Regions from separate parts of the Homo sapiens genome. Here regions 1 and 2 are each linked to region 3. The links are contacts of gene promoters, found by promoter capture Hi-C in human tissues and cell types (Jung and others, 2019). All regions are on one chromosome and are shown on one strand. Each heading gives the region's core, a stretch centred on a gene start or on the middle of the fragment in contact. The rest is flanking DNA. Distances are from core to core; before and after follow the strand shown.

Evidence for each region. The method cuts DNA at HindIII sites, captures the fragments that hold promoters and counts their contacts. A contact is called where the count stands out against the background at its distance.
Region 1: a contact is called between a fragment that was not itself captured here and the fragment with the promoter of S100Z in region 3, in 3 of the 25 tissues and cell types used here (H1 embryonic stem cells, IMR-90 fibroblasts and small bowel).
Region 2: a fragment that was not itself captured here is called in contact with the fragment with the promoter of S100Z in region 3 in 1 of the 25 tissues and cell types used here (spleen).

The regions. Positions count from the first base shown.
Region 1 is chr5:76,687,003-76,689,880 of GRCh38, reverse strand. All of the region lies in intron 30 of IQGAP2 (IQ motif containing GTPase activating protein 2), which reads right to left. Among named protein-coding and RNA genes, the nearest start is that of NCRUPAR, 24 kb to the left of the region's middle. The HindIII fragment of the contact is 4,029 bases long and covers 1-2,878 here.
Region 2 is chr5:77,044,824-77,047,737 of GRCh38, reverse strand. AGGF1 (angiogenic factor with G-patch and FHA domains 1) reads right to left here. Exons shown (of 14, transcript NM_018046.5): 6 at 1,061-1,391. Among named protein-coding and RNA genes, the nearest start is that of AGGF1, 16 kb to the right of the region's middle. The HindIII fragment of the contact is 7,047 bases long and covers 1-2,914 here.
Region 3 is chr5:76,848,570-76,851,269 of GRCh38, reverse strand. S100Z (S100 calcium binding protein Z) reads right to left here and starts at 1,256. Exons shown (of 5, transcript NM_130772.4): 1 at 1,115-1,256. The HindIII fragment of the contact is 8,325 bases long and covers 1-2,700 here.

The sequences.
Region 1 (2,878 bases), core at 151-2,650, 160 kb after region 3:
TAGCATTCCTGAAGCTCCCCCTCTGTCATCTGCTTATACTGTGCCCAAGGTTGAAAAGCAATCAGTGTTTGTGGAAACTAAGGAATATTTTCAGTATTTAACATCCTAACAAGATAATTTACATTATTAGCTCCAGACCTCAAATATCACCTTAGCCATTTAGTGCTCCTGCTAGTTTGGACCAAAAAACAAGGAAATCTTTCAGCTGGGATCATGGAACCTAAACTTAATCATGTGACAGGAAATTCTTAAGAGATGACAATTTAAGCACTCAAGCAGCTAAGTATGATTAAAAACCACAAATATTGCCTTCTACTTAAACACACATACTTTTGTGGGAAACTAAGCTTAATTAAGGCCATAAGGATCACATATTTTAAGTTGAATCATAAGTTATAATGAAAGGTTGACAACTGCATAGTTTTATATAATTTATGTGGTATTAATTATAATTTCATGTGATCATCATAGCCCTTCCTTTCCCCTCTCCTCTATATTATGGAGGAGAAAACTGATGGCGAGGCAACTTGCTGAGTTCCATGGTTAATAAGTGATAGATTGAGGCTATAACCCTATGTCATCCCTAAGACCCCTCGACTAGGTTTTTAGGATTCCTCGACCAGGTTTTTTTTTTTTTTTTTTTTTTTTTTAAATATCCCTGTGCTTGGTAGTATTAGAAAAATAGCAATAGCCCAAACTGAGGTTCTCTATTCTATAAACATACACAAGGGAAAAAGAAATAAATGTTTCTTCCTACTCCGATATGTGCCCTTTGTCCCTCCTCTTTGGCCTGGAAAGATGCTCCAGCCTCCGTTACTCAGTAACTGCTCAGCTAATAATTCTCATTATTTATTCTAAGATTCCTAAGAATGCAAAGAACAATGACCTTGCCCTCGACAAGTTGTAAAACTTTATGATCAAGAGTGTGGGCCCTGGAGGATTTCAAATCATGTGGGTTTGAATCTCTGCTCCACTTAGTAACTGTGTTACCCAGGAAAAGGTTTATACCTGTTCTGTGCCTAGTTTCCTCATCTGTAAAATACTGATAATAACCTCCACTCTCTTGGGGTTGCTGAGAATATTACATACATATTTTATACATGTTTATTTTAATATATATATATGCACATGTTATTCTCTTTCTCTCTTTACAGATTGTGGGTCCCTTTTTCAAAATGCTTGGGCCCAAAAGTGTTTCAGATTTTTTATCTTTTCAGATTTTGGAACATTTGCATTATATACTTACTGCTTCAGCATCCTAAATCCGAAAATTCAAAACGCTCCAAAGAGCATTTCCTTTGACCACTGTCAGCTCTCAAAAGGTTTGGAATTCTGGAACACTTTGCATTTGCACAGTATATAAAAACTGTCCCTGGCCATGGTAAGCACTACATAGGTGTTTGCTATTATCATCATCTTCATCTTCATCTGATGAGTAAGAATTATGAGACTAGCATGGAATTAAATTTACAAACATAATGATTAACAATGCCTCAAATTCTGCTACTGTGGGGGCCTCCATGAAGATGAGTTACTCATGACTGGAAAACTAGTGACATTGTAATTAAACATAAGGGCATTTCTGAAAGTTAAGAACACAATCTGTTTCACAAAAAAGCAGAATAGTTTTTTGATAGAGAAAAGCTAGGTATTTTCACATCCCAATTGCTCTGCATTTCATGTCTGTCCACTTCATAACTTATAAAAGTCATTGTCCGATTTTAGTTAAATTTGGTTCTCTAATGAATCTCAAGAACTATATCTTATGCTTGAGTTACAAATTCGGTTTATTAGCTTGGAAAAAAGTCATCCTGATGAGAGTGTTCAAATCAAAAAAGTCATCCTCATGAGAGTTCAAATCAATATTTTAAAGGAGTGGTCCCCAACCCTTTTGGCACCAGGGACAGGTTTTGTGGAAGACAATTTTTCCATGGACAGGGTGGGGGATGGTTTCGGGAAGATGATTCAAGTGCGTTACATTTATTGTGCACTTTGTTTCTATTATTATTGCATTGTAATATATAATGAAATAATTATACAACTCACCATAATACAGAATGAGTGGATGCCCTGAGCTTGTTTTCCTACAACTAGACAGTCCCATCTGTGGGTGATGGGAGACAGTGATCATCAGGCATTAGATTCTCATAAGGAGTGTGCAACCTAGATCCCTTGCATGTGGAGCTCACAATAGGGTTCATACTCCTATGAGAATCTACTGCTGCCACTGATCTGACAGGAGGTGGAGCTCAGGTGTTAATGCCAGCAATGGGGAGCAGCTGTAAATACAGGATGAAGCTTCACTTGCTCCCCTCCTGCTGTGTCGCCTGGTTCCTAACAGGCCATGGACTGATACTGGTACTTTTAGACTTTAGTTTCCTTGCCTGCAAGAAAAAGACTCAGTTTTCAGGTTCCCTGTCAATGCTGCACTTTGTAATTATCTGTTAGTATCAAGATTTTTTCAAATATGTACTTTAAAGGAAGTATATTTAGAAGCAGGGCTTGGCTAAAATCATAGAACTAATTCTATTGAACCTTTTGGGCAATATCCAAATTTCACTTTCAGGGATGGCTAACCAGTCAGTGTTGATTTCAAATTGTTACCTACATTGATCACTGGGCTGCTTAGTAAAGTGGTCGGCCAACAGTAAGATCTCACAGTATGCCAAGAGGAAGGCCTTTGAGCATAAAAGACTTAGGGCCTCTATTAAAACACTGGCCTCAAGCCTTTTTTACATAAATGGAAAAGTTGATCCTAAAATTCACATATAACTGCAAGAGACCTATTCAACTGCAAGACTAAAACAATCTTGAAAAAGAAGAAAGAAGTTGGAGGACTTCCGTATTTCAAAACTCATTACAAAGCTACAGTGATCAA
Region 2 (2,914 bases), core at 178-2,677, 200 kb before region 3:
AAGACCACCCTGGCCAACATGGTCAAACCCTGTCTCTACTAAAAATACAAAAATTAGCTGGGTGTGCGTGGTGACATGCGCCTGTAGTCCCAGCAACTTGGGAGGCTGAGGCAAGAGAATCACTTGAACCCAGGAGGCGGAGGTTACAGTAAGCCGAGACTGCGCCACTGCACTCCAGCCTGGGCAATAGAGCAAGGCTCTGTCTCAAAAAAAATGCAAGAGAAATGCCATTGAGAACCAAAGAACAAAGTAAGCTCATATACTACACAGTTGGCCCTCGGTATCTGTGGGGGATTAGTTCCAAGATCCCTCCTCATATGCCAAAATCTATGGATGTTCAAGTCCTTATATAAATTGTATCGTATTTGCATATAACTTATGTGCATCCTTCTGTATAACTTAAATCATCTCTAGATTACTTACACCTAATACAATGTAAATGCTATATAAATAGGTACACCATATTTAGGGGACAATAACAAGAAAAAAAGTGTGTACATGTTCAGTACAGATGTAGCTATCCATTTTTTTCCCTGAATATTTTTGATCTGAGGTTGCTTGAATCCACTAAAGTAGAACCCATGGATACAGAAGGCCAACTGTAATATGAAATCCTGTGTTTTAAAAGTATGTCTTTATATATTCAAGTAAAAAAAAATTAGATTTACCATAATATCCATGTAGCTGAATTCATAATGTATACTTTTTAAAGACAACTTGTTTTTCTCTCTCAGTTACAAAAGTAGACTACAAATATCTAACCCACTAAAACAGCCTTAATCTATATTTTAAGATTAGAATCCAGGTAACCTGGCTTTGTATTCTACTGACTATGCCATTCAATACAATGAAACCTTCTGAAGGTCTAAGTATTAGTCATTTATTCACATCCTACTCTCTAAGAATAACCAAGTGGCAACCCACAACATTTTCAATAACATCATTAAAATAATGTTTACTTTCTGGCAGATATACTACAACTCACTAACATTTTTAATGGTTTTGCTCTTTTATAGTTACCAGACTGGGCTATTTACTTAAATAATGATTATTTACTCACCTTCATCCTCACTATCTTCTGCAGTTACATTGCCTTCACTGGTAATGGCTTCGTCATAACTATCCTCAGTCTGAGAGTCTGTAATTTCACCTTCCTCTGGTTCACTATCAGTCTCCATGATTTTCTCATCTTTAAATGATGTTGAATTAGAGATGTTTTCATGAAGAGGAGACTCTATAGTATTTCCACTAGTTGGAACAGTGACTTTGGGGGGACTATTTTTGTGATGAATGCCTATTTTGGCCTTCTTTTTCATATTTGCGAAATTTTCTTCCTCATTGCAGCTTGTATGTTCAACACTGAAGGCTTTTTGATCCTCTGAGTTCAAATCCTGGAGAAGGGTGGGTAGATACGAGGGAACAGGGGAGAATACTCTTAAACATCACTATCTTATAACATTACATCAAGTTTCAACGAATTCGTGAAGATATGTGTCAGTAAAATAACAATGGTTACAATCTGTTCCCCCTCTCCTTCTCACATTTCCTTTCTTGGTTAATGATATTACCATCTTCTTATTATCCAAATTAAAAATCCTATAGTTATCTCTGAGATCCCCTTAACCATATATAAAATTACGAAGTGCTACAGACTTTTCTCAAAATATATCCAAATCTGTCTCTCTATTCTCAATGTCTTAACATTCCTAGTTCAGGCCCTCATCACATACTGCCTGGACTATGGGATAGCCTAGACCAATGGTGTCCAATAAAAATGTAACACAAACCATATTTGTACTTTTACATTTTCTAGTAGCCACATTTAAAAAGTAAAATTATTAATGAGATAGTTTACATAGTCTGCAACATCCAGAGTGTATTTTACACTTAACAGCACATTTGAGTTTGGATTAGCAAAACTTCAAGTGCTCAACAGCCACATGGAGCTGCTGGCTACCTTACTGGATAGTGCAGGCCTAAAGAATACCTATTCTAAATTTTCTTTTTAAACTGGTAATCAATTAGCTAGTCAACACAAATAAAATACAGAATTAGCTTTACTTATGACATGAATTTAAAGATCCAAATGTACTCAATATGTAGCAAAATTGTAGTTTTGCTAAAATTTAGTACTTCAGATTCAGCTTGATAATACATAAAAGTTTAAAGTACAAATTAACTGTGACTATCTTATTCCAAAATTTTAACTTGCCTGGCATAAGTCTTTTATTATTTATTGTACATTTATAGTTGATATGCCTTATAATAAATGAACATTTTTTAATTAACAAAAATGATGTATTTTTATCATGTACAACATGAAGTTTTGAAATACGTACACAATGTACAGTGGTTAAATTGAGCTAATTAACATGTACATTACCTCAAATACTTATTTTTCTGTGGTAAGAAACTTAAAATTTGCTCTCAGCAGTTTGCAATAATACAACACATTGTTATTAACAATAGTCACCGTGTTATACAATGGTCAAATCTATCATTTCAGCCTTAGAAAAAGTAAATAATTATTTTCCATTTTTTTCCCTTGGTTTCTAACGCACTCTCACTTTTCTTTCTACCTCAGAGCAACATGAGGCGAATTCATATGCTCTTCTGTTATTTTATAAAATATGAGAGCATCTCACACACCTTTCTTTCTTTTTTTTTTTTTTTGAGACGGAGTCTCGCTCTGTCGCCCAGGCTGGAGTGCAGTGGCGCGATCTCGGCTCGCTCCAACCTCCACCTCCCAGGTTCAAGAGATTCTACTGCCTCAGCCTCCCGAGTAGCTGGGACTACAGGCATGCGCACCACCATACCCAGGTAATTTTTTTATTTTTAGTAGAGATGGGGTTTCACCATGTTGGCCAGACTGGTCTCGATCTCTTGACCTCATGATCCATCCACCTCACATACC
Region 3 (2,700 bases), core at 7-2,506:
CCGCAGTGTGCCCACCCATCCCCTCTGCACCATCTGTGCCGCACACGTGGCACTGCCACTGTGCTGCCCATTCCTCTGCTCAGGTGCCAGTCCTCCAGGGAAGCCTCCGATGCCCCTCAGCTCCTGGGAGCACTCCGCCTCTGGGTGCCCCTGTATCACCTCATGCTTTCCTCTAGACCTGCACCGGCACTGGGTTGAAGGAAAATAATAGTAGCCAACGTTAATTAGCACATACTCTGGGCCAAGCACCCTTCTAGGCAGTTTAAATGTATTCCTTTATGTCATCCTCAAAAATCCCATGAGGAGGCTGGGGAGCGGTGGCTCATGCCTGTAATCGCAGCACTTTGGGAAGCCAAGTGGGAGGTGGAGGTTGCAGTGAGCTGAGATCACACCACTGCACTCCAGCCTGGGTGACAGAGTGAAACTCCATCTCAGAAAAAAACAAAAAACAAAAAAAACTTTATTTCTCTGTCTAACCCAAATTTTGTGTCCTCTCACCAACTTCTCCCCAGCCCCTCCATCCCTCTTCCCTCTCTTCTTCTGTAGGCTGAGAGCAGCCATTCCAGGGCTGATTGTCCAGGCATGCCCAGCACTGGCCAGTGTGAAGAGGAGGAGCATAGACCACTGCTGTGACTTCCTGGGAGTGGGCTTACACTGGCATCTGTGCAGGCTTCAGGAAAAAGAAGCGAAATCACGGCGTGGATCTAAGGGGCCAAGCCTCACCTTGAAGGTTCTTCTGGGTCTTTGGCCTGGACAAGAACATGAAACTTGAATTTCTCAAGGTGAGGTGAAGGCCAAGCAGGAAGCCAGGATGGTCACCAGGAAAGGAGCCAGAATGAACTAAGTGTTCTTTAGGGCAAGGAACTTACCAGAACCTCTACGCTCCGAGCTATGATCAGGCTGCTCTCTCCCTCTCTCTCTCTCTCTCTCTCTCCCCCACCCCCCCGACCCCTTTGTGGCCAAGGTAAGGCCACATTTTAGAGTGGAAGCCCCAAGGCAACCCCCCACCTCACAACCTCCACTCTTGTTGCCCTCTCTAATCCAACGCCTGCCAGGCTCACACTTCAACCACTAGACTGAAAAGCAAGAATCTTCCACAAAAATAATCTTTTACCTTAGACCTGCTTCCTGTGCAGATGAGATAAGGAGAATGCTCTTGTCTGAATTTCTGGGCGTGGAGATTAGCAAGCCGTTTTCCTCCCAGCAGCTAGAGCGAGCAAGAGGCCCTGCTGTGAGTAGTGCTGTTCTGAGTCTGCGTGGTCCAGACTCACCACACTGCAGGCACGTTTCTTCATCAGGTGGGAAAGCAGGAAGAGGTTTAATTTAGGACCTAAAGCTGGTATATTGCTGAGTAAAAGAAATGGGAAGGCACCAAGTCTCTAACGAAATTGCGCTGGGTGCAGTGGCTCATGCCTCTAATCCCAGCACTTTGAGAGGCTGAGGTGGGTGGATCACTTGCGGTCAGGAGTTTGAGACCAGCCTGGTCAACGTGGCGAAACCCCATCTCTACTAAAAATATAAAAATTAGCCAGGCATGGTGGCGGGCGCCTGTAATTCCAGCTACTCGTGAGGCTGAAGCAGGAGAACGCTTGAACCTGAGAGGCAGAGGTTGTAGTGAGCTGAGCTCGCCGCTGCCCTCCAGACTAGGTGACAGAGCCAGATTCCGTCTCAAAAAAACAAAAAAAAAAGAAAAAGAAACTGCTTGTGATCCAACACTCCCCCACTGGTGCCTCCTCATGGTGAAGAGCAATTACTCTGGCACCAGAGTCTTGGGGTTCAAATCCTTACTTCACCAGTATGTGACTGGAAAAGCTACCTAACCTGCCTGCTGAAGCTTCATGGCTAATAATTCCTCACAGCATTTCTTTTTTTCTTTTTTTTTTTTGAGACAGAGTCTTGCTCTGTCACCCAGGCTGGAGTGCAGTGGCATCATCTCAGCTCACTGCAACCTCCACCTCCCTGGTTCAAGCTTCTGCCTCAGCCTCCCAAGTAGCTGAGATTACAAGCGCCCACCACTAAGCCTGGCTAATTTTTGTATTTTCAGTAGAGATGGGGTTTCACCATGTTGGTGAGGCTGGTCTTGAATTCCTGACCTCAAGTGATCCGCCCACCTTGGCCTCCCAATGTGCTGGGATTATAGGCGTGAGACACTGCGCCTGGCCCAGGAGGAATAAGTTTAAGAGCTCCCATTGTACAGCATGCTATCTATAGTTAATAACAATATATCGTGTATCGAAAATTGCTAAGACAGTAGATGTTAAGTGTCTTTATCACCCCCAAAAAATGACAAGTATATGGGGCAATTAAGTCAAATAGCTTGACTTAATAATTCCACAATGTATACATAAATTAAAACATCAAGCTGTATTTGTATACCATAATATATACAATTTTTACTTGTCAATTAAATAAATAAATACACAGAAAAGGGCAGAGACAGGTCAAGAAGCACAGCACTCAGTACAGAAATACAGATAACAATATATTGAAAGAAAGAATTCAAAGATAAATTTTTTTTTTTTTTTTTTGGAGACAGAGTCTTGCTCCATTGCCTAGGGTAGAGTACAGAGACACAATCACAGCTCTCTGCAACCTCAACCTCCCAGGCTCAAGTGATCCTCCCACTTCAGCCTCCCAAATAGCTAGGACTGCAGGGTATGCCACCACAACCTGGCTAATACTTGTATTTTTTTGTAGAGA